Linked DNA regions of Homo sapiens: regions 2, 3, 4, 5 and 6 are each linked to region 1. The links are contacts of gene promoters, found by promoter capture Hi-C in blood cells and fetal thymus (Javierre and others, 2016). All regions are on one chromosome and are shown on one strand. The core of a region is centred on a gene start or on the middle of the fragment in contact, and the rest is flanking DNA. Distances in the headings are between cores, read along the strand shown.

What was found. Contacts are between HindIII fragments. The CHiCAGO score rates a contact against its expected background, and 5 or more counts as called.
Region 2: the fragment with the promoter of HECTD1 here is called in contact with the fragment with the promoter of RALGAPA1 in region 1 in 4 of 17 cell types (non-activated CD4 T cells, total B cells, naive CD4 T cells and 1 more); the score reaches 10.8 in non-activated CD4 T cells.
Region 3: a contact is called between the fragment with the promoter of DTD2 here and the fragment with the promoter of RALGAPA1 in region 1, in 3 of 17 cell types (fetal thymus, total B cells and naive CD4 T cells). The highest score is 14.5, in fetal thymus.
Region 4: the fragment with the promoter of ARHGAP5-AS1 here is called in contact with the fragment with the promoter of RALGAPA1 in region 1 in 4 of 17 cell types (activated CD4 T cells, fetal thymus, naive CD8 T cells and 1 more); the score reaches 13.2 in activated CD4 T cells.
Region 5: the fragment with the promoter of FBXO33 here is called in contact with the fragment with the promoter of RALGAPA1 in region 1 in 3 of 17 cell types (total B cells, naive B cells and total CD4 T cells); the score reaches 14.7 in total B cells.
Region 6: a contact is called between the fragment with the promoter of TRAPPC6B here and the fragment with the promoter of RALGAPA1 in region 1, in 9 of 17 cell types (total B cells, total CD4 T cells, naive B cells and 6 more). The highest score is 15.5, in total B cells.

Annotation. Positions count from the first base shown.
Region 1 is chr14:35,807,357-35,810,807 of GRCh38, forward strand. It overlaps RALGAPA1 (Ral GTPase activating protein catalytic subunit alpha 1), which reads right to left and starts at 1,939. Exons shown (of 42, transcript NM_001346249.2): 1 at 1,374-1,939. The coding sequence starts at 1,479. RefSeq lists enhancers at 1,589-2,149, 1,986-2,085 and a silencer at 1,666-1,905. The HindIII fragment of the contact is 1,366 bases long and covers 1,890-3,255 here.
Region 2 is chr14:31,206,160-31,209,610 of GRCh38, forward strand. It overlaps HECTD1 (HECT domain E3 ubiquitin protein ligase 1), which reads right to left and starts at 1,634. Exons shown (of 43, transcript NM_015382.4): 1 at 857-1,634. RefSeq lists enhancers at 526-1,039, 1,552-2,063, 2,041-2,210, 2,064-2,575 and silencers at 681-890, 1,011-1,220, 1,521-1,860. The HindIII fragment of the contact is 4,913 bases long and covers 108-3,451 here.
Region 3 is chr14:31,455,942-31,459,392 of GRCh38, forward strand. It overlaps DTD2 (D-aminoacyl-tRNA deacylase 2), which reads right to left and starts at 1,565. Exons shown (of 3, transcript NM_080664.3): 1 at 1,342-1,565. The coding sequence starts at 1,452. RefSeq lists enhancers at 584-1,169, 1,170-1,755, 1,200-1,409, 1,550-1,729. The HindIII fragment of the contact is 653 bases long and covers 1,002-1,654 here.
Region 4 is chr14:32,075,168-32,078,618 of GRCh38, forward strand. It overlaps ARHGAP5-AS1 (ARHGAP5 antisense RNA 1 (head to head)), which reads right to left and starts at 1,532. Exons shown (of 1, transcript NR_027263.1): 1 at 252-1,532. ARHGAP5 (Rho GTPase activating protein 5) reads left to right here and starts at 2,137. Exons shown (of 7, transcript NM_001030055.2): 1 at 2,137-2,268. RefSeq lists silencers at 1,558-1,817, 2,178-2,397, 2,196-2,490. The HindIII fragment of the contact is 3,747 bases long and covers 1-2,838 here.
Region 5 is chr14:39,430,636-39,434,086 of GRCh38, forward strand. It overlaps FBXO33 (F-box protein 33), which reads right to left and starts at 1,798. Exons shown (of 4, transcript NM_203301.4): 1 at 929-1,798. The coding sequence starts at 1,527. LOC105370461 (a long non-coding RNA gene) reads left to right here and starts at 1,804. Exons shown (of 8, transcript XR_007064121.1): 1 at 1,804-1,884. RefSeq lists silencers at 787-916, 1,357-1,486, 2,227-2,396 and an enhancer at 1,587-1,836. The HindIII fragment of the contact is 7,836 bases long and covers 1-3,451 here.
Region 6 is chr14:39,168,472-39,171,922 of GRCh38, forward strand. It overlaps TRAPPC6B (trafficking protein particle complex subunit 6B), which reads right to left and starts at 1,862. Exons shown (of 6, transcript NM_001079537.2): 1 at 1,544-1,862. The coding sequence starts at 1,624. RefSeq lists enhancers at 1,320-1,909, 1,669-1,718, 2,500-3,089. The HindIII fragment of the contact is 6,900 bases long and covers 1,643-3,451 here.

The DNA of each region.
Region 1 (3,451 bases), core at 689-3,188:
TAGAAGCTTTACATTTTCTTGAAAACTGAGCTTTTTATAGCGCTAAACTGGATTAACTGCTTTCTTACTACTCCACTGGAATAAATACAATTTACTTGTGACAAAGATTAGCTGTCATAAATGTAGAAAGAGTAAAAAAACAAACTAGAGACACAAAATCTGGGTTCCAATTCTGACTCAGCCTCCTGGTAGCTGGCTGACTACTCGATGTTCCCAAACTTCAGCTTTTTTGTTGGTAAAAAATGGAGAATAATATCATCTACCTATAGAGTTATTGCAAGGATTATCATAATTTACGTGAAATCACTGTAAACAGTAAAGCATCATAGAAATGTTGGGTAATATTGGTGGTATCCTGGTGGTATGAGTAAACAATAGACTAGAGAAACATGTACCTCAAATAAGGGACTTACTTTTTTCACTAAATAAACATCACTTTCCAAAACAAATACGCATCAGGAGGACAGCTCGAGATAAACTCTGAACTAGGATTCAGGCATCTGGATGAATGCATCTTCTTCAGCCAGTTCCACCATTAACTCTAAGTATCAACACAGGCGAAATAATTTTCCTTTTCATCTCAAATGTCTTCATCTAAAAAATCCAACTACTGGACCAGATGTTCCATAAGTATTATTACAGCCTTTATCAGCCTACCAAATGACTAAGTATTCAAAAGAGTCGATTAACATTATATTCAAAACTTAGAGCACTGTTTGGTCTACCAGCAAAACAGAACTTAAGGGCAGACGATAAAAAAAATATTTTTAATTAAAAATAGAATTATATACAATTCTCGAGAAGCAAAGGATGAGTTAAACTACCTATAATAGTTCTCCCTCTAAATGACTAGTGATGAACAAGGTGCATTAACAAAAGGGCGGGGCTCCTTCCCACAGCTTTTTGGGAACCGCCCACTTCCCAAAGAGGTGTAACTGCTACCTCCTTGTCTTCATCTGCCAAGAAACTTGAAAGATTAAGGTTTATATTGTCTGAGAGAGGATTTTATTTTTCTTTTTACTTGGGTGGGGTTGGCAGTAGTCATCTGGCAAACATATCCTATAAACACCATTATCCACAACGCCAGGTCTCCCCACAAAGTCTTAAAGATCTAAGTTTTTAGAGTAATACCAATTTTAAAAAATAAGTTCAGACTATTAACTCAAAATTAGATTACTGTGTTAACAGTAATCAGTGCTGCCAACTGCCAAGTTTTCGCTTCTCCGAATTATTCACCCTCCCGCGTCTCCGCAGAGGCTACGATTTGCCCTCTCCTGCACCGCGCCAGGTCCCGAGAGAGAGTCCGCAGGGGCTCCCAGGAGAGGGAAGGCCGGGCAACCCAGGCCTCGGCGCTGCCACCCCTCGCTCCTCACCGATGACGATGCGCAGGTGCTTGAGGCGAGTCAGTGCGTCCTTCTTGGTGTCTAGCACCTTCTGGGTGGACTTCTTCACGTCCCCGTGCGGCTTCTTGGAGAACATCCTGTCGCTGCCACTGCCACTGCCACTGCCACAGCCGGCTCCCAGCCGGGTCCCGGCGGCAGAAAGTGGAGGGAGTGGACGGGGAGGAGACTAGCCAGAGAGGCTCATTAGCTCCCCAGCCTTGCGGGCCAGGGCAGAGCCGACTCCTTCCCGATCCAGGCCAGGGCCGCCACCTCCACCCGCCTCGCGCCGCGGCTCCAAGGCACCTTCGGCCCCAGCTCCAATATGGCGGATCCCTCTCCCGGCCCTGCACGGAGCGAGGCAGACCCGGGCTGGCCGCCTGCCGCCGCCGCTCGTCTCCAGCGGCCGCCGCTCGCCGCCACAGGCCGGGGCCCCGGACCCAGAGCCACGAAGGTGGAGCTCTCGGCGGCAGGAGCACAACTCTCTCCCTGAGGCCCCCTTAAGGTTGAAGCTTCTTTAGCAGCTTACACCCTGCAGAGGCCGAAACGGAGACGAGTGTGGTAGTGATGGGGTTTCACGACTCTGCCGTCGGTGGCGAACGGTGTCCGTGGCAACCGCCTTCTGACGTCAAGAGTTCTTGACGTCATGCCAGCATGAGATCACCCGTGGCACTCCCCGCCTTGGTTTCCTGTGTAAGCAGCCAAAGGAGAATCTCAAGAAAGGCAAGGAAGGTAGTTACTGCGTGCTCCATTGTAAGCCAAATGATAGTAATAAGCAAAGAGAAGTAATCTTTATTAAATATGTCCATGATTTATCTTTGAAAATGTGCATAAGTTGTTGTGGCCACCAGATCCTCTAGCAGAAAGATAAACGAAGTTACAGTTGGGCAATTTATTCTGTCCTAAATCTATTACTAATAATATTTCCTGCACTATGTATGTGATTTCTTTCATATTTTTTCTATTTGCAATATCCCTGTTTTTTGCTGCAAACAACTTGACAACAGAAAGGCTTAAGCAGAGGTATCTAGGTTTTTTAAATAAAAGTAATCTTGCTTTCCTTTTCTATTGTGCTTTTAAAAATCTTTTCCCCATCTGCACCCCACATAAAGATGAATATATTGTCAGTTTTTCCTCTGCAAAGAAGAATTCAAGGTTCTTATTACATTGATGGAGTCATCTGAAGAATCTGCAATAGCTGAAAAAAATCCGTGAAATTCTGAATGACATAAATTGAAATTTTTATTGGAACCCTTTTTTTTTTTTTCCTTTTTCCTTTTCTTTCCAGACAGGGTCTCTGTGTCCCAGGCAGAAGTGCAGTGGTGTGATCTCAGCTCACTGAAGCCTCGAACTCCCAGGCTCAGGTGATGCTCCCACCTCAGCCTACCGAGTAGCTGGGACCACAGGTGCGCGCCACCACATCCAGCTAATTTTTGTGTTTTTTGTAGAGACGGGGTTTCGCCATTTTGCCCAAACTGGTCTAAAACTCCTAGACTCAAGTGATCCGCCCGCCTCAGCCTACCAAACTGCTGGGATTACAGGCGTGAGGCCACTGCGCCTGGCCAGGAACATTTCCTCCACAAAATAATTTGATAAAGAGTGAGTTTGCTTGTTTGAACTGTTTCCTTCTATGTTCTCACCCATAGCAATAGACTTGTCCAATGAAATATGTGATTAACATAGAAAAATAACAAAATCAGCAAAGAAGAGAGATGTAAGACATTTGCCAAAATTATGTTAAAATATAGTGCTTTGCTTAATGGTAGTTTGTTTCAACAACAATCCTATATTTTTTAAAGTACAAAAAATTTATTCAGTTTCTACATGTAGGGTTTGTTTGTATCATCAAACTTACAAGCCATACATGTTTTGAGGAAGCTTATAACATAATAGAAAAATAAGGGGATTGTTCAAGAGATTTTAGTTCTAGTTCCTCTCAGCATCAGTTTTCTTATTAATAAAATCAAAATAAGGTCTGTCCCTCACAGTTTCGTGAAATTTAGGCAATAATACAATGTTTTCAAGCATGATCTTTAGAATTACATAGACCTAAATTAGACATTCTGTTTTTC
Region 2 (3,451 bases), core at 384-2,883, 4.6 Mb before region 1:
ACAGATATCATACCAAATGAAAACCAGTTTTGCACAAGAGTATATAAGCTGATTAGGTTGCTGCTTAACTAGAAACCAGAGCTGTCTGTGTCAAAGACAGTCAGTCAAGCTTCAGGTCCCACTACTGCTATCACTAAAGTCTATGCCAAAAGGCAAAGAACACCTAACTAAAGGTTCTGTTTTTTCCAGCAAACTTCATCCCCCTCCTTCTCTACCCAAAACTGATCTTCAGATAAGGGTTAGATTCAGTATTTTGAGGAAACTCTAAACACCTTGATCCAATCCCCCTCCAAATTGTTTCTCCTTCAAAATTACCTCCAATTTCACATATTCTGCTGACTTCTCAATTTACTTCTATTTTAAAGATATCCAAATACAAACGACAATTATATACAAGATTTATCTATGAATAAAGAGTTGGTTAGGAATTTTGGCAGTCTTGGCAACTATTCTTAAAAGTTAAAAAAATAAAAAAATTAAAAAAGGAAAGGCTAAAAGTAAATGCAATGGACCAGCAGGTTACGGATCCGAACGAATGTAGGCCAACCTAGGGCCCTCTTTCCCCAGCTTCACAAGATAGGGCAGTTGGTTAAAAAAACAAAAACAAAACCGAGAAGCAACCCCAACAGGTAAGTCATTACAAAAGCGCCCCGTAAGCGCCCTGACTGGAGGACAGCTTTGGGTCCCACGTAACGCAGCCGCAAGTGTGGGAAGCCGGCGGCGGGGCGCGGTGGGCACCCAACGGCGGCGACCAGCGGGGTTGACCCCACACCCGGGGCCCGGCCGAGCCGGGCGCTGAGAGGCGCTGGCCCCCGCGCTGTGGTTCCCCAGCACCAAACCCCGCTAAGTTAACTACCTGTGTCTACGAGGAAGGGAAGTTCTGGAGAAGCAGCAGCAAGCCTTCGTGCCCGAGAGGAGGCCGCCGGGCCAGGCAGGGCGCCGGCTCTCCCGGGAGCTGCGCCCGGAACTCGAAGGCCTGGCAGCGAACCCTTCTCAAGGGCAAAAGGAGCCGGCCTGAGGCTCTGGCGCGGGCAACCGGGCCCCGCCGCCGGCAGGGCCCCGGGAGGGGAACAAAGGGGCCAGCGGGGAAGTCGGCAGCAGCCTGGCCGACCTCACTCGGCGCCGGGGTCTCGCTTTCCGCCACTCGCCGGGCGTCCGGGATCCGCGCCCCCACGCAGGGCCCTTCCGACGGTCCGAGGCGCTCCCGCCTCCCCTTCCCGCAGGCTCTTACTCGGGCTTGTCGTTCCAAACCGCTCCGATCCAGCTCCCAACAGGCCGCCGGCAGAGCCAGGCCCGGCCGCGGCCCTAGAGTTCCCAAGAAGCCGCAGGCCGCGCAGGTCGAACCGGGCAGGCGGCACAGGAAAAGCCGCGCCTCGTCCCTCCCCTTCCTCCGCGAGGACCTGGTGACAGGGAAGCGAGAGGTTCTCGCGTGCGGCAGCAGCCAGCGGACGTCCAGTCCCCAGCACGCGGCTCCTCAGGCCCTGCAACTCAGAGGCCCGCGCGGTGCTGCGGGCGACGGCGGCGGCGGCGCGGCGGGGAGGCCCAGTCCATCGCGAACCGGGAGGGGGAGGGGAGGAGGGTCGAGGGAGAGCCAGGCGGGGAAGCTGCCGAGGGCAGCCGAGCCCGGCGGAGGCGGAGCAAATCCACTCCCCCGGCGGCGACCCCGCCGGCGGCCACCTGGGGCGCTGCGGGACGGCCGACCGCCGCGCAGGGGCGCCAAACCGGGTACGCCGCGTCGCCGTCCCTGCCCCGGAGCTCTCGCCCCCGCCGCCTCGGGCTGTGTCGTACGTTTCTGCCGCGGCTTTTCTATGGTGCGCCCTGGCCCCCTTTTCGCTTCCCTGTCAGTCCGAGCGCGCTCATGCACGCACGTCCAGCTTGCTTGGCGCCGTGGCTAACACTTTGCGCGCTCCTGCGGAGGGCGTCGCACGGCACAGCACAGCAAAGCTGCGGCCCAACCTGTCCCCGCTGAGCCTTCCGCCCAGGCCACCCGCACTCAGCCACGATCTTCCCTCCTCGCGCACGGAAGTGCGTCGCGTAAGGAAGGCGTCTCCCCCCGCTCCTGGGAGGCCGACCGCCTGGCGGTTCACCCCAAAGAAAACCCTTCAGAGCAACCCTGGGAAAGAGGTGCTGCCGACGATTATCAACGTTGTACAGATGAGACACTGAGGCTCCAGGAAAGCGCAAATGCAGGCCCAGCGCCGTGCCCGGTCGGCAGCAGCACTGAGAGTGCACTTTTGACTACGTTTCTTGTGGCTTGTGGTCACAAGTATGTCTGTGGTTATTCTTTTCAAACTTTATTTCACACGCATTCAGAATAAAGGATGCATGCTTATAGGACGTAGTTGGAGCCCGGAGACGTCCTACTGTACTCTCACTTTCAGCTTTTAAACAAAAAGAAAAATTAATACGACATGATAGTGTTTGAGACATGGTCCCTCAGGCAACCAGAGGAGCTGCTAGGTATGAGTAAAGAACAGAATTTGGGTCCGCTGCGTTTCCTGTAATCCCAGCACTTTATGATTTTACTCTCTTGAGGCCCGGAGTTCGAGACCAGCCTGAGCAACATAGACCTGGTCTCTGCAAAAAAATTAAAATTTAAAAAATAATTACCCAGATGCGGTGACGCACACCTATGGTCCCAGCTACTGGAGCGGTTGAGATGGGATGATCCCTCGAGCCCAAGAAATTGAGGCTGCAGTGAGCTTTGATAATGCCACCTCACTCCAGCCTGGGCGACTAAGCAAATTTGTCATTTCCAAAATACTGGTTCTTTTTTTTCTTTCTTTTTTACTACTTCTTTAGAAAAAGAACCAGTATTTTGGAAATGACAAATTTGTACTTCAGATAGCTATCCGCGCATGTCCCGTTGTCGCAGGTAATGGTCCGTTTAGGTATCCTGTTAACGAAACAAGAGGAAAAAGAGGATTCAACTATTTTGTCCCAAGTACAACACATGAGGATAATTATTTAGATGTCATGAGTGTGAATTGGAGCTGCCAGGAAACTTCAAGAAGGAAGTGGCATTCCCTCTGGACCTTGAAGAATGGGTACAATGTAGACACTGAAAGGAAAGGGAAGAACATAAAGCCTGATATGTTCCTAGACATAGGAAAGGTCACCTGTGCCCCCAGCAAAGAACCAACAGTAAGCAACAGAGAGAGAAATTTGGAGCTAAAGTGGGGAAGGCCTTGAATGAGGAATGCAGAAATTAGGCTGAGCTAAGTAGCAAGTTCTGGACTACAACACTGGAAAAACTAGTCTTAAGAAGACTAATTATGGAAAGTGTCTAGAACGACTAAAAGGATCTATCTAGACGAGACTAGCTGGAGGTTGTCGAAATGCTGCAATAATGGAGGAAAGAAAAGTCTAGTTATTGGCAATATGAATGGGGAAGAAATCTAAAAATAATTTTTGAAAGAAGATATATCAGAATTTAAATGATTAACTTAAA
Region 3 (3,451 bases), core at 315-2,814, 4.4 Mb before region 1:
ATCATGACAAAAATAAGAAATAAGAAAAGTGAATTTCTGGGAAAGGAGAGAGATAAGAATACAGGAATTTCTATGCTTATATTTCCAAATTAGCACAGGGCAACAGATTCTGATTTTAGAATAATCACCCACACATCATATAGTTCACGGGTACTATTTACAATAAGTAGGCGGGGTGCGGTGGCTCAGGCTTGTAATCCCAGCAGTTTGGGAGGCTGAGGCAGGTGGATCACCTGAGGTCAGGAGTTCCAGACAAGCCTGGCCAAAATGGCGAAACCCCGTCTCTGCTAAAAATACAAGTTAGCGTGGTAGCTTGCGCCTGTTGTCCCAGCTACTCGGGAGGCTGAGGAAGGAAAATTGCTTGAACCCGGGAGGCGGAGGTTGCAGTGAGCCGAGATCGTGCCACTGCACTCCAGCCTGGGCGACAGATCGAGAATTCATCTCAAAAAATAAAATAAAATATAAATAAATAAAATATAAAAAATAAAATAAATGTAAAATAATAACTAAAATTGTTTTAAGTAATGCTAGATCTGGGACCGAATTCAGCAGAAAAGGCGAGCGAATGAGATTTTGCTACACTGAAGTTTCTGAGTATCTACAAAAGTCTTAATTATGAACTAATTTTTTTCTTACATTTCAACGTACTCCAAAAATACGTCAGAGGCCTTAAAGAAAATTTTATTTGTTTTTGTATGCAGTGGGGGCAGGCGGTCTTAAAAAGTAAAGTATGTATGAAAGTAGAAGGAACTCATAGTGACATAAATGTTTTAAATTCTTTGGAGAAATGTGTTTGATAAGGCAACATTGTTATAAAAGTAGAGGTCTTTGTTTCTCAGTTGGAAATTGGTCAAAACTTTTAAAAGGCTTCTTGAAATAGAATTGTTTCTTAGGAAATCTCATTTCTATGCTAAGACCAAGTCAACATAGGGGGGAATTCGACGCGATCTGAGGCGTAAGTCAAAGCAGATCATGAACTCTTGCAGCAAACCTGACCTACAAGCTTGCCCCCGACCAGCATAGACCACGAGCTGCAAGGGGTCTGAGACAGTAAGGCCTGAAGTTCACCGAACTCAGTTTCAAATACCTGTGGTCCCCCCAAGAAGGGAGACACGCTCTTCCTCTCGGGTGCTACAACTGGCGCTGGGGAACGGTGATGCTGGACCGAAAAGACAAGCGCAGCCAGGCAGGCCACCGCGGCCAGCTTCAAGCTGACCCGGTATCCCCGCGGCCGGACCGCCGGTCTCAGAGGGAGACACAGAGCGGACGAGTCACCGAGACAACGCGGAAAAAACCGCCCCGCACGCCGGAGGATAACGAGAGCTGCCGGGCTGACGTTACCTCCACCCACTGGGCCGCGACGTCCCCATCGGCTGGGCGAATTTGCAGCCGGGCGTGCAGGCACTGCTGTAGGAGCGCCCGGGCCTGAGGAATCCGGCTACCCTCAGCCATGGCTTAAGCCAGCGCCGCGGCCGGACAGTTACTAGGCCATGTGTCGCTGGCCCCTCCCTCGACGCGCTGGCGGGGCAGACGAGGCGGGGCACGACGAAGGGCCTGCGCCGATTGCCCAGTGGCCCCGCCCTTAGGAGGGCGGGGCCTCGGACTGACTCTCGAATGTCCCGGATGTGCGGTCTTGGAGGCCGGCGTAGCGCTAAGCTTCTCGGCAGCACCTGCCCAACTCTGTAGAAGGCGCTCAGTGTATACTTTTATTAAACGATTGAAAAGACTCGTTAAATCTCTTTCCTACAAACCTTTTAAGAAACATTTTTCACCTCAGAAAGCTTAGGTTCCAACTGTTGAAAAATTTTAAATCTGCTTGATTTAAATTCATGTTATGCCCATATGAAAGTAAGTAAACAAATAATCGAATCATAAAGCAAGCGGAGATGGAACTAAAAGCTATATATACATCCTTCAAAATTTTCCTTATTCCAATCAATAAAAACAATGCTGCCTCCTCTATCGGGAATGCCATAAATTATTCTGATTCCACAGTTGTGAAAAGGTATTGGTATGCTATACGAATACACATTCTTTAGAAGATATCCTTGTTAAAAATGTTCTTATCCAAGAAAGTATGATTGTTAATAACTTAGCCCGCTACTAATACAAAAATAAAACAGCTTATTCTGATGCATATGACGTAAATTCTGTGATGCATTTTCTGGAAGTACATATTAGAATGTAAATAAAACTAAACAAGGGCTTGATTTTCTTTCCCATGTAACGTATTCCTTAAACATGCATCAGATTAGCATTTATTTGTCTATGGGCTTGGATGGTTTAGATGAGGAATAATAGTGTTACCCTGATTGCATTACCCAGGTCATTGATTTGGGCTCAGTTGACACAATGTGCCTATACATTCGGATCTGTTGTTTAAAAAGATGACATCACTGACAGTGTTGCTATCCATACAAAGTAGTGTGACTGAAGAAAATAGTCCATGCATAATCAACAGTCCTTTGTACACAAAATCGAAGCTGCTTGTTTGCTGGTTATCTTGCAGCCAGGTTTACACTTTTAGTAAAAACAGAAAGCAAAATCTCACATGATCTCTGATTGTTGCATTGCAGGGATTCCAACAGTTGTTGACATTTGTCTGCAAAGCACAGACAAGTTGAATTGCTTCATGTCTGCACCTTTATGTCATTATAACTACTGAGTCTCTTTTCTCTCCGGCTCTCAGATTCAGATTTTACAGGCCTGAAAGAAACTTTGACATACAAACCATTAGCTATGTCCCAGAATAAGAAAAGACTTTGGTGTCCATTTGTATGTGGCTGCAGGAAATAGGGAGGTCTATAGAGAATAGGTTATGTGGTTCGCAGAGATCTTTCTACAGAGAGGGTTTCTTTAACAAATTGGGAAACCCTTCCTGTGAGTAGAATAGATGGAGTATGGATGGTAATGGTTAGCTTCTCAAAAATCACTAATTACTTTAAACCCTCCTATTGAGTGAGGATCTCGTGGACATTGCTGTAGGTACTGTAATAGGCTGTGGCTCACTTATTTTTTACTTCTATTTGCAGAAGGCTATAGAGAGTGGCCACCAAAGACAGCATTTCCTTTCTGTATTTTATTTTTTGAACACTTAGTTTCATTCTGCAAATAATTTAAGAAGGAAGGACATGCATGCAATAAAATAGTAAAATGTGAATTAAAGCATTAGAAATAAAGAAACTAGAATTATGTCAGTAAGCCACAATGGGGGAAATTGAAAACAGGTAAGACAGTGGTTCTCAACTGGAGTGCTGAGATGATATAGTATGCAGCAAAATTTTCACAAATGTATAACTTTAATTTTTGTTATAAAACAATTATGTTCATTGTATGTAGTATTGAGGTGCTGTAGGTTGTACAATTTGTTTCAAGTTGGAACTAAAGGCAAAGCATAGCATTAAGTTGGCTTTACAAGAAGATGGTGGTTCACTGGAATGTGAGAGAGCTT
Region 4 (3,451 bases), core at 282-2,781, 3.7 Mb before region 1:
CTTTCCCACCTACAATTTGTAACTGAAAGAAAGAAGTAGCTACAGACCTTACCTAACCTACTCTTAACCTACTTGGTAGGTAGGGTTCAGATGCAAGGGAGTGGCTCGAATAAAGCATTTTAGTTATGCCTTTTAGAAATTAGGGAGCAAGAGATATATAGAAAAATTAGAAATGTCTCTTCTACCTTTATTAAGTCTACCTTTGAGAAATATGAAGGGCAGGAAGACGGAAAAACGAACAGAACTTCTGCTGGAATATTGTGACAAATTTACTGACAAATATTTTCTAATAGATTTTTACCAACAGGCAGTTTTTGTTTTCTTTACTGACAGACCGTAAATGTACTTCTGGTTGGCAGCAGCTGCATCATTATAACACAAAAGCAACCTTGGCTAACTTCAGTACCTTATGTAACATAAGAAATAAAGAATAACTTGAATTTAAAATACTTTTTATATGTTTACTAACATTAAACTATTTTCAATGCAGGAAATAAATATTTCCCCAAAGAGGAATCCCCCCTCAATTACTTTCTTTCAGACTTAACAAATTGGAGTAGATGTGGTTTTGCTCATTCTTTTATCTGCTGGCAACTATTTTAAGTCTCCTGTGCAAGGCAGATTCCGATGACCTCGGGAAAGTCACAGGACCTCAGTTTCTTCAATGGTAAAAGCAAAGGCAGTGGTTTCTACCGTCCTTTCTCACTGCACCATTCAGCGTCAGTGCCCTCATGAGAAACACACCCAAAGCCCAGTGTGCTCTACCCCAAAACTTGTGAAATTTCTAGAGTCTCAAAAAAGTGAATATGTTTAAGGCAGTATAATAAAAGCCAGGTGGACGACAGTTCCTAAAGTTAGGCTGGTAGTGGCGTGAACAGGGGTCTTTTGGGCCACCCTGAGACCCGCCCCACGGGGCTTCTCGATCCACGTCTTGGCTTCTCGCTCCACTTTCACAGAACGTACTGAATCAGGGGCCTGCATCCCCGTGCCGTGCCGAGCCGACGGAGAAATGGACTCCTCTTCTCGCTCCTGTGGAGTTTCGTCTTCTGGGTGAGTGTGGCACCGGGTCCTGGGCGGGTGATGTCTGTAGTTGGCGAGCGATCCTCAGCCAGAAAACTGGCTGCGCACACAGGCGCAGACACGCGAACATGTTCCTGCGAACGAGCTTGGGCGCATGTTTTCCTCCCTTGCTTTCTTTAATGCTCAGAGACCATAAGGGGATTTATCGAGAAGCATTCGGTGCCCATGCCCGGTTTGGAACCGCGAGCACAATATCTGGTTCCTTTGCAGTACGGTGGTTTGCTCTTGAGTTACGACCAGAAACCGGAACAGAAGGAAAGGGAGAAGCAGGGGAGGTTCGGGGACGACGGCGCTCCGGGCAGTAAGGCAGTAGCTTCCAAAGCGTGGAGGATGGGACTGAGGAGGAGCAGAATACGGAGAAAGAGGGAAGCTGAGGAAAAATACTCACGCCAATGGGTAAAAGGGAAAAGGTGAGAAGGAATGGAGTAGGGGAGGGAACCAATGGTGGGAGAGGCGGAGGAAGAAGGGGGAGGGGTAGAAGCCAATGGGGGAGTGGAGGGGAGGGAGAAGCAGAGGGGAGGAGGGAGCGGGGACGCGAGCGAGGACGCGGCCCCGCGCGCTCGTCCCCCTCCCTCCGACTGGATAGCTCGCGCCTTCCCAGGCTCCCGGGAGACGAGGGCAGGGGCGGGGCCGTGCCGGGTGCGCGGCGCGGGAGGCGTCGCGAGGTGAAGGGGCGGGGACGGGGGATTGTGGGGAGGGCAGCGCGGGTTCGCGCGCGCGCGCGCGTCCCGTCCAGGCTGCGCCGCCGCGCCGCCGCTCCGCCCCCGGTCGGGTGTGTGGCTGCGCGCGCCGGGAGAGATGCTGAGGTAAAGTTCGGGAGAGAGGGAGAGAAATCCGTCAGCGCGAGGGAGCCCGAGTGGCCGCCATTACTGAGCCCGGCGCGGCGGCGGGCGCTGGGGAAGGGGGGAGGGACGGGCCGCCGCTGGTGGCGGGGAGGGAGGGAGGGAGGGTGGGTGAGCTGGCTGCGGGAGCCGTGGGGCTCAGGGTTTCGGGGCGTGTGTGTCGGGGAGGGCGGGGGGAGGTGGCTGAAGGGACGCGCCGCTCGGTGAGCGCGCCGAGGAAGAGAGGCGAGCGGAGAGTGGAGGAGGAGGCGGCGGCGGCGGGAGCGGTCCCCAGGAATGTCGCTGCCGCCGCCACCGCCGGGGCCGCTGCCGTTGAGGAGGAGACGGAGGAGACCGACGTTGTTAGGTAGGACCTTGCGGACCCCGCTCCTCCAAGCCTGCCTGCCCCCTCCCGGACGGGGACCCTCCTGCGGCTAGCTGCCCCGCTCGGTCGCCGCTGCCGGTTGTAACCAGTTGAAGGGGCTGGGGCCCCGCGGCCGCCGAGGGGAGCCTGGCGCTGCGCTCGGTTTTCGCAGGCCGGGCGGGCAGCAGCTGCAGCGTTAGGGATACGTTCGGCGTGAAGGGCAGAGAGGCCGGGGGAGGGGGTGCTTTCTCCACAGGTGACGGGGCCAGGGTCGGCGGAGGCCTGATGCTGGCCGGGGATCGCCGGCCCCGCCAGGCGTCCGCTCTCGCCCGCCGCCTCACTTGCTCGAGTCTCGGGTGGTCCGTCGAGAGGGGAGGTGGCGGTGTCCGTTGGCCGGGTTGCTGCTGTTAACGAGTTCCACCTGGAAAGGGTACACGGGGCGGGTGCAGATTCGCGGAAACACAGTCTCGGTTGCAAACTTAAACGCCTTGTAGGGGGGATCGGCCCTTTCACTTTCCCTCATCTCCTCGACTCCTCCCTGGGTTCTCTTCACCAATTTTCCATCTGCTTTGAAGCTTGGAGTAAGATATGAGAAGTTGCACTGCGCATCCAGAGCCCAGAGTCCTATGGGCTGACTGCGACTGGGTTGAGGCTTTGATACTGAGTTTTCGCTAGAATAACCTCCAGATTCTTCCTCTCTTTCCACTAAAGAAAAGTATCGGGGTGGGGGTGGGGAGCCGCGCGGGAGCGCGCGCGCACTTATCCACACAGAAATACTCCCTCTCACCCTCCCTCTTCAGCGTTATTAGAAATGCAAGAGAGCTGGAGGCTCGGGGTGTAGCTGAGGTTGAAAGGTGCACGGAAGTAAGGGCAAACTGTTATTAGGCCGTTTAGTAAAATCCCGAAAAAGTTGTAGGGGAGACGCTTATACTTCTACCATGTGATAGAAATTCGGATTTGGCCATCGCTTAATAAATGGGAATTCAAATATTTTGAGATAGAGCAAGATAGGCATATAGATGGGTTTGTGCTTACGTTTTAAGTTTAAATTCTTATCGATCATTTATTTTTTCCTTTGTGATAGGCAGGAAACTGAATTTTTTTTTAAATGTTCAGGTGTAAAACAGCAAAATGCTTCGCTGTATTTACTAGTACTTGCTTATGTTGCTTTCTACAGGTAGGGGCG
Region 5 (3,451 bases), core at 548-3,047, 3.6 Mb after region 1:
AGTATTTTTACTATGTAAGGTGCTCCTTTTGTGAACGTCTAAACTTTCTTCTAATAAGAGCTTTACTGTAAGGTTCTTTAGAATATCCATATAAAGAAGATCTAAATTAATAGGGTTTTGGAGGTGGCGATGGAGAAAAATGATGATTGGGAGGGATACTGGGTCAGAATATAAGGCGTTAGTTCTGGAATTACAGTGAAGTCCTGATGCAAAACCAGAACAGTTATGTGCTTACCCTCTGCAGACCCTGGCCAACTCCCTCGCTGCCCGCCCGCCTCCTCCGCCCGACTGTTACTTTTAGGTGAACTACTGGGGAGAAGTTGAGTGTGGTGGTGTATGGGGAGGGACTTTCAACCCTGAAGATCAACTTCTTCCCCAATCCCTTTAACAAACACTCCTCCTCCTCTTCGGGCCTTGTTCAGTTAGCCGAAACTATTTCTGGTAAGAAAATGGCTGTTACAAAATTTCTTTTAGGCAGCGTCCTATGAGTACCTACTCCTTCCCTCACCATGAACTATTTCTAACAGATTCAGAGTCAGAAAATCGTGTTATGTGTATGTTTTGTTTCTTCCAAGGCTCACCCACAGGCCTCACCCTCCCAGTCTTAACGCTCCCATATATAAAATGAAAAGTGACAGCGCCTGTCAGCTCCATCCCACGGCCACCAAGAGGATGAATGAGTGCCTGGAAGGCGCCAGAAGTGGTGTCTGTTAAACACCCCGTCCACCACTGTTTATAAAGTATCGTGATGAGTCCCGTTATGCCTTTCCGCTCAAGGAAACCGCCTAGTTAGAACCAACACTCTCCGTCACTGAGGAAGGCAACACTGAAGTTGGCCGGGCACGTATTATGCACAGAATCTGTGTCGGGGTGCGGGGACGGAGCGACCCCCCGTTACCGGGCGGGGCGGGGCTCAGGGCAAGCCTACCTGTTGTTCCGGATGCTGACCAGCACGCAAAGCACCAGCTCCAAGTAGGTGCGCAGCACTTCCAGCCAACGAGCTGAGAGCTGCAGGGCCTCGACTTCCTCCCCTCCAGTCCCGGTGTCCGCGCCACCTCCGTCCCCTGGGCCACCGCCGCTCAGATAGTTCTCGGCGGCGAATTCAACACGCAGCTCTCGCACGAACCAGCCGCACTTGCGCATGAGGAATTCCAGCCGAGGCTGCTCCGCGGGCGAGACGCGGAGGCAGATGCGGAGCTGGGGCCACAGGGCCGGATAGAAGAGGCACTCACGCCAGTGCGAGCAGGAGGCCGAGGCCCGCAGCCGGTCGGGCGCCGGCAGAAAAGAGAAGATGTGCACGATCAGCTCGCTGGGCAGCGACGCAGCGCCCGCCGCCTGCCCGCACAGAGCCATCCGGCCCCGCCGCCGGCTGCCGGCTCCCGGCCGCCCCCGCAGTACCCGGAGCAGCCCCCGCAGCCGTCGCAGCTGCTGCAGCCGCAGCCGCCGCCACCGCGCCACCCGGGCGGCCCCGGCTCGGGTTCGAGCTCCCGGCGGTCGGGGCTGCGGCACTGACAAGAACAACAACATCAATGACTAGGAAGAAGGGGGCGGAACCGTCGTGGGTCTCGGCGGAACCAAGTAGAACACAAGTTGTGGAGAGGGGGAAAGGCCTCTGCGGGCGTGGCCTGCCGGGAGCCAGCCTCTGTCTTCTCAAACTCTACTCACGTGCGTCCGAGGCCGGCACACTGAGTAACTGCACTGCCCTCGCTCGTAAACTTCAGCGGCCCGGAAGCCTCAAGGCGTACTGTAAGGAAAAGGCAGCCCTCCCTGCGCCGGTCGGCAGAGACAGAGAAGTGGTAGGAGCTGAGTTTGACGTCGCCGCTGGTGGGAGGAGTCCGGCGCGCACCGGCGCGACTTCCGGAAGAGGGGAGCGCCCGATTGCCTGTAGGGACGGGAGGCGCGGCACGTGATCTCTGACGCACGCAGGCCGCGGGGCGGGGCGGGGCTGGGCGGGGCGGGGCGGGGCGGGGCTGGGCGGGACTGGAACCGGCACTTGGCACCCCTTACGCCTTACGGTGGCCGCTGCGCCCAGTCACATCTGTAAGTCGGTTAATTTTGGCGCTCGGTCGATGGAGGTGGCGGTACTCTGGTTTAGTGCGAAAGGTCGTCACGCTTCTTTGTAAAACGTTTCTCAGTTTGGGCTGAGGACCCTGAGCCAAAGTGGCGGCATGCAGGGTCTTTCTCAGCCATCCCACCTGCCCAGAGTAGGGTTAAGAATTCCTGAGATTGCGCCGCTGAGAGGGAGCTGGCGGACGGGCGGGCTAACCCCGGCGGGCTGTGCCGGGAGGGGCGGTGTGGGGCGTGGCGGAGGCCGCGAATGGACCTGCCCCCTCGGTCCAACCACGCAGGTGGACTTCCGCGCACTCGCTGGTGTGTGGGGAAGCAGTGAGGACAGCGTCACCCTTTGGATTCAGAGGGAGAGAAAAAAATTGGCAAAGGGATCTGAGATCCGCAGGTTGTGACCAGCCTCTTCTCCAGGGCTTGAGGAAGGGTCTCTTTTCCCTGTGCTGAGATTTAAGGCTCTCGTTGAAAAGTTCACAGTAATGACAGAGCTTTGATTTTTTTTCTTTCTTCTTCTTCTTTTTTTGCCTGGTATCCCTAACTTAGATTTTCCAAACCATGTCCCTAACTTCACCACAGCCTACTGCAAAGTAAACTCTGGTTGCAAAGAGTGGTGAAGTCAGAAAAGATTAAGTGACTTTATGTAATAATCGAGGGTTGCTTTAGGGAGGCTGCCTCTTTATGTAATAATTGAGAGTTGCTTTAGGGAGGCTGTGATGTTGGAATAGCATCGTTCTTTTGTGGTAAACACCAAGACTTTTTGGACTTTTTTTTTTTTTTTTGGTTTTAAGGAGCGGAGAATTTAATAGGCAAGAAAGAAGGAAGAAGGCTGAAGGAAGAAGCTCCCCACTACAGAGACAGACGGAGGGGGCTCCCAAGACGAAAGAGGAGACCCCCATTCTAGATGTTCTTAACCCTTTGAGGGCAAAGCTCTCCGTTTAATGCCTTGCACATATCAGGTTGCCAACAACATGGTGTGGTTTATCAATTGTGATAGGTTACTTATTCGAGCCCCTGTTTACAAGAGTTTTAGGTAATTATACCTTATTAATTTTAATGAACTCTTAGAGGGCGACCCCAGTCGTGGGTTCGGCAGGATGAAACACTACCCATTTACCAGTTTACAGACATTTAGGTCGTTTCGAGTTATGAATAATGCTGTGAACATTCATGTGCAAGTCTTTATGTGGACGTATGTTTTAATTTGTCTTGGGTAGATACCTAGGAATGAAAGTGATGGGTCGTAGGGTAGTTCTATGTATAACTTTTTGAGAAACGGAAACTTTTTCCAAAGTGGCTGCATCATTTTTCATTCCCACCAGCCATGTATGAGGGTTTCCAGTTCTCTGACTTTTTTTTTTTTAATATTCTAGAAATGCACTGTAATTTG
Region 6 (3,451 bases), core at 612-3,111, 3.4 Mb after region 1:
TCGCTTCATTTCCAATAACCTTCCAAATGTATCCTGCCTATCCTTCTTGTGCAAACTGGCAGTACCTTTTTTTGGATGTCATACAGGCACCTCAAAAGTTCAACCTGCCCCGAAATAACTCATTATCTTACCTCCTTATTTTTTTCTTCTCCTTTATTTCCTTTTCTGATTAATAGTACCACCATCCAACCCAGCTGCTCAAGCTGAAAACCTGACGATAATTTTCAACTCCCACTCCCATCCTTAAACAAGGCCTACAGAATTCCACTTTCTAACTTTCAAATCTGTTATCTCCTTTTCTCACTATCCCTGTCTTAATCCAGATCTTCATCTCCTCCTGCAGTGACTCCCGTAATAAAGGATTTTCCCCCTACAAGGATCTTCCCTCTCTAGCCCAAACACTGGATTACTTTTCTAAAATGCAAATGGTCCACATCATTCCCTTCCTTAAAAATATTCCCTCGAAAAGATCCGAATTCTTTAATTACACAAAGCTTTCTAACTTCACCTCTCAATTCTTCTCACTCTCTATTCAGTCTAGTCCAAAGAAATGCTTAAGTGTATTTAAATCCACCACTCTTTCATACCTCTACCACTTTATCTTTGCCTAGGATACATTTCCTATCCCCACTCTCCACTCATTTTTTATCAATAGCATTAAAGAAAGGGCTCCTGACTTGAGCATGACTTTGGAGTATTTCTAAAATCCGTTACAACTCCATGATTCTACCAGCCAATACTCAGTGTTAACTATTCATTAAATCACTATTCCCTAAATACTGTGAGGCAGGAGTATTATTTTATTTAATTTATCTAGCAGTGTCAGCAGTGACAGGCCCACAATGATTGAATAAGGACTCCCACATATTAGAAGTAACCGCTACATACTATCACATTTCGGATTAAATTAGATTAAAAAAAAATCTCTACAAGGATGGGGCCATTGTTTCATTCACTACTATATCCCTGGCACCTAGAAATCGCTCTGACATAAGGGCACTAAATAAATACTTTCTGAAATAATTAATTTAAATTATGTTCCCTAATTATCCTAACGCCTGCAAACTTTCCTTTGCAAACTCAACCTTCATTAGGCTTCAGGTCTCAAGTTGTGTGGAGTTGTACTGAGCATTAGGAATGAGGAAGGAGGGACAGGCTTCTCAGGTTGGCACAGGTCTGTCCAGTGCATGGCTCAAGTGCTGGAAGTGCCAGCAAAACTAAGTAGGCTCTGCAGTTAACCCTCTCGTAAATAATGGCAGGGACAACACTAAAAGTACCAAAATCTGTGGCGTGCAAGACAAACGTACGGGAATAGACAAAAGAGAATCAAATAGAAGAAGATACGAAAGAGAAAACGATGAAAGATGACGGTTCAAAGGAGACAACTGACAGGTTCTAGGGTTTAGGACACCTGGAGGTGGACCATTTTGTGTACACCTCGGGAGGCGTCGGGTGGCGATGGGACAGGGGTTGAAGGAAAGCACTGAGGGGAAACAAGGTGTGTCACCGCAAAAGGACCTCAAGGTTGTGTGGCAGCACTCACCACCTCCCCCTGCTCCGCGGACTTGTACACTCCAGACACCATCTCGTTATGGAGAAGCAAAAACAACGCCTCATCCGCCATTTCCTGCTAATTCTTCCAAGCTTCGAGTTTTGGCTCCCGTTTGAGCTGGTCTGGGGGTTCCAGCTCGCGCCTCAGCGACTTCGCCGGCGCCGCGGCTCCGTCAGGCCGCCATTCTATCCCTGTGGCTAAGAGACCGAGGTATTCACACGACTTCCCAAAGGCTGGTACTGAAATGAGTCTGGTACTGGAGAGAGCCCACACTTCGGGGCTACCAAATCCTAGGGCCGAACTAAAGTCTGACGGGAGCTCTAACCAAAGCCAACCAGCTGAGATGCGATCCGGCCGCTGGGCGGGGGCGAAAAAAACAACTTCCGGTCCCCTCTACCCCGGCATTCGGCCAGCTCTATGATCACTGAGTTCCTCTCTCCCAAGCCCGGAGAGGCCAGCGCCCAGATATGAGGAAGGTTCCCCTCTCACCACGATGTCGGGGGCAGAGCAAGATAAAATAAGACCTAAAGCTCCCGCCTGGCCCGGGCGCGGTGGCTCACGCCTGTAATCCCAGCACTTTGGGTGGCGGAGGCGGGTGGATCACATGAGGTCGGAAGTTCGAACCAGCCTGAGAAACCCCGTCTCTACTATAAGTACAAAATTAGCGGGGCCTGGTGGTGCATGCCTGTAATCCCAGCTACTCGGGAGTCTGAGGCAGGAGAATCGCTTGAACTCGGGAGGCGGAGGTTGCGGTGAGCTGAGATCGCGCCACTGCACTCCAGCCTGGGCAACAAGAGTGAAACTCCGTCTCAAAAAAAAAAAAAAAAAAAGAGCTCCCGCGGCCACCTCCTTGTTAATTAGCAATAGAAGTTAAAAAAATTCTTTTGGCTTCATCAAAAGCATCCACTTCCTGCCATATGTTCTTCAAATATGAAAAGTTGTAGAAAGAGTTTAAAATATACGTTTTCACAGTGCAAATTTTTTAAATATTGAAAAGTTATCCCAATTCCTATTGAATTAAGCCCGGGTATACAAAAAGAATTAGAGCCATTTTGACCACCAGGAATTTTCCTGTTAGTGGGGTGCAAGGGACAAGGGAAGTGGAGCAAACGAAAAACAAGATACACTTGAACCGGAAAATACAGACTAATCAGAGGATTAGGTGAAAAGTGCTATAGAATTCAGAAAAGCGATGTCACTGCAGGATGGAGTTGCTAATAATCTACAGCAGTGTGAGACAACTGTAGGAATTGTCCCACTGCATGTGCAAATAAATACACATGCTACATCATAGTATGTACATCTTAAATTTGGCAAATTCAACCGTAAGCATGTTGCTTAGCCTGTGATTAGTTCTTCCATTGGTAATTCACAAAACAAAATTTTTCCCCAATTGTCCCTGTTGTTTTCCCCCAAATTAACATACCGCAAGGTGGCTCATGCCTGTAAAATCCAGCACTTTGGGAGGCCGAGGCACGGGGGGTGGGGGGGATCACGAGGTCATGAGTTTTGAGAGCAGCCTGGCCAACATGGTGAAAACCCGTCTCCACTAAAAATACAAAAATTAGCCGGGCGTGGTGACAGGTGCCTGTAATCCCAGCTACTCGGGGGGCTGAGGCAGGAGAATCACTTGAACCTGGGAGGCAGAGGTTGCAGCGAGCAGAAATTGTGCCACTGCACTCCAGCCTGGGCGACAGAGCAAGACTTCGTCTCAAAAAACGAAACACACACACAAACTCTTCATGCCCTTTCACAGGAATTTAAGATCATGTTCCAAAATTTTAATTGTGGTAGGTTTTTTTTTTAAGCATGTCCCTTCTAATGTTTGAATCAGTTTATTCCATTCATCACGTAAATCCAGCATAAAAGCTCCACTTAAGCCTTTGAAAACACTAAATT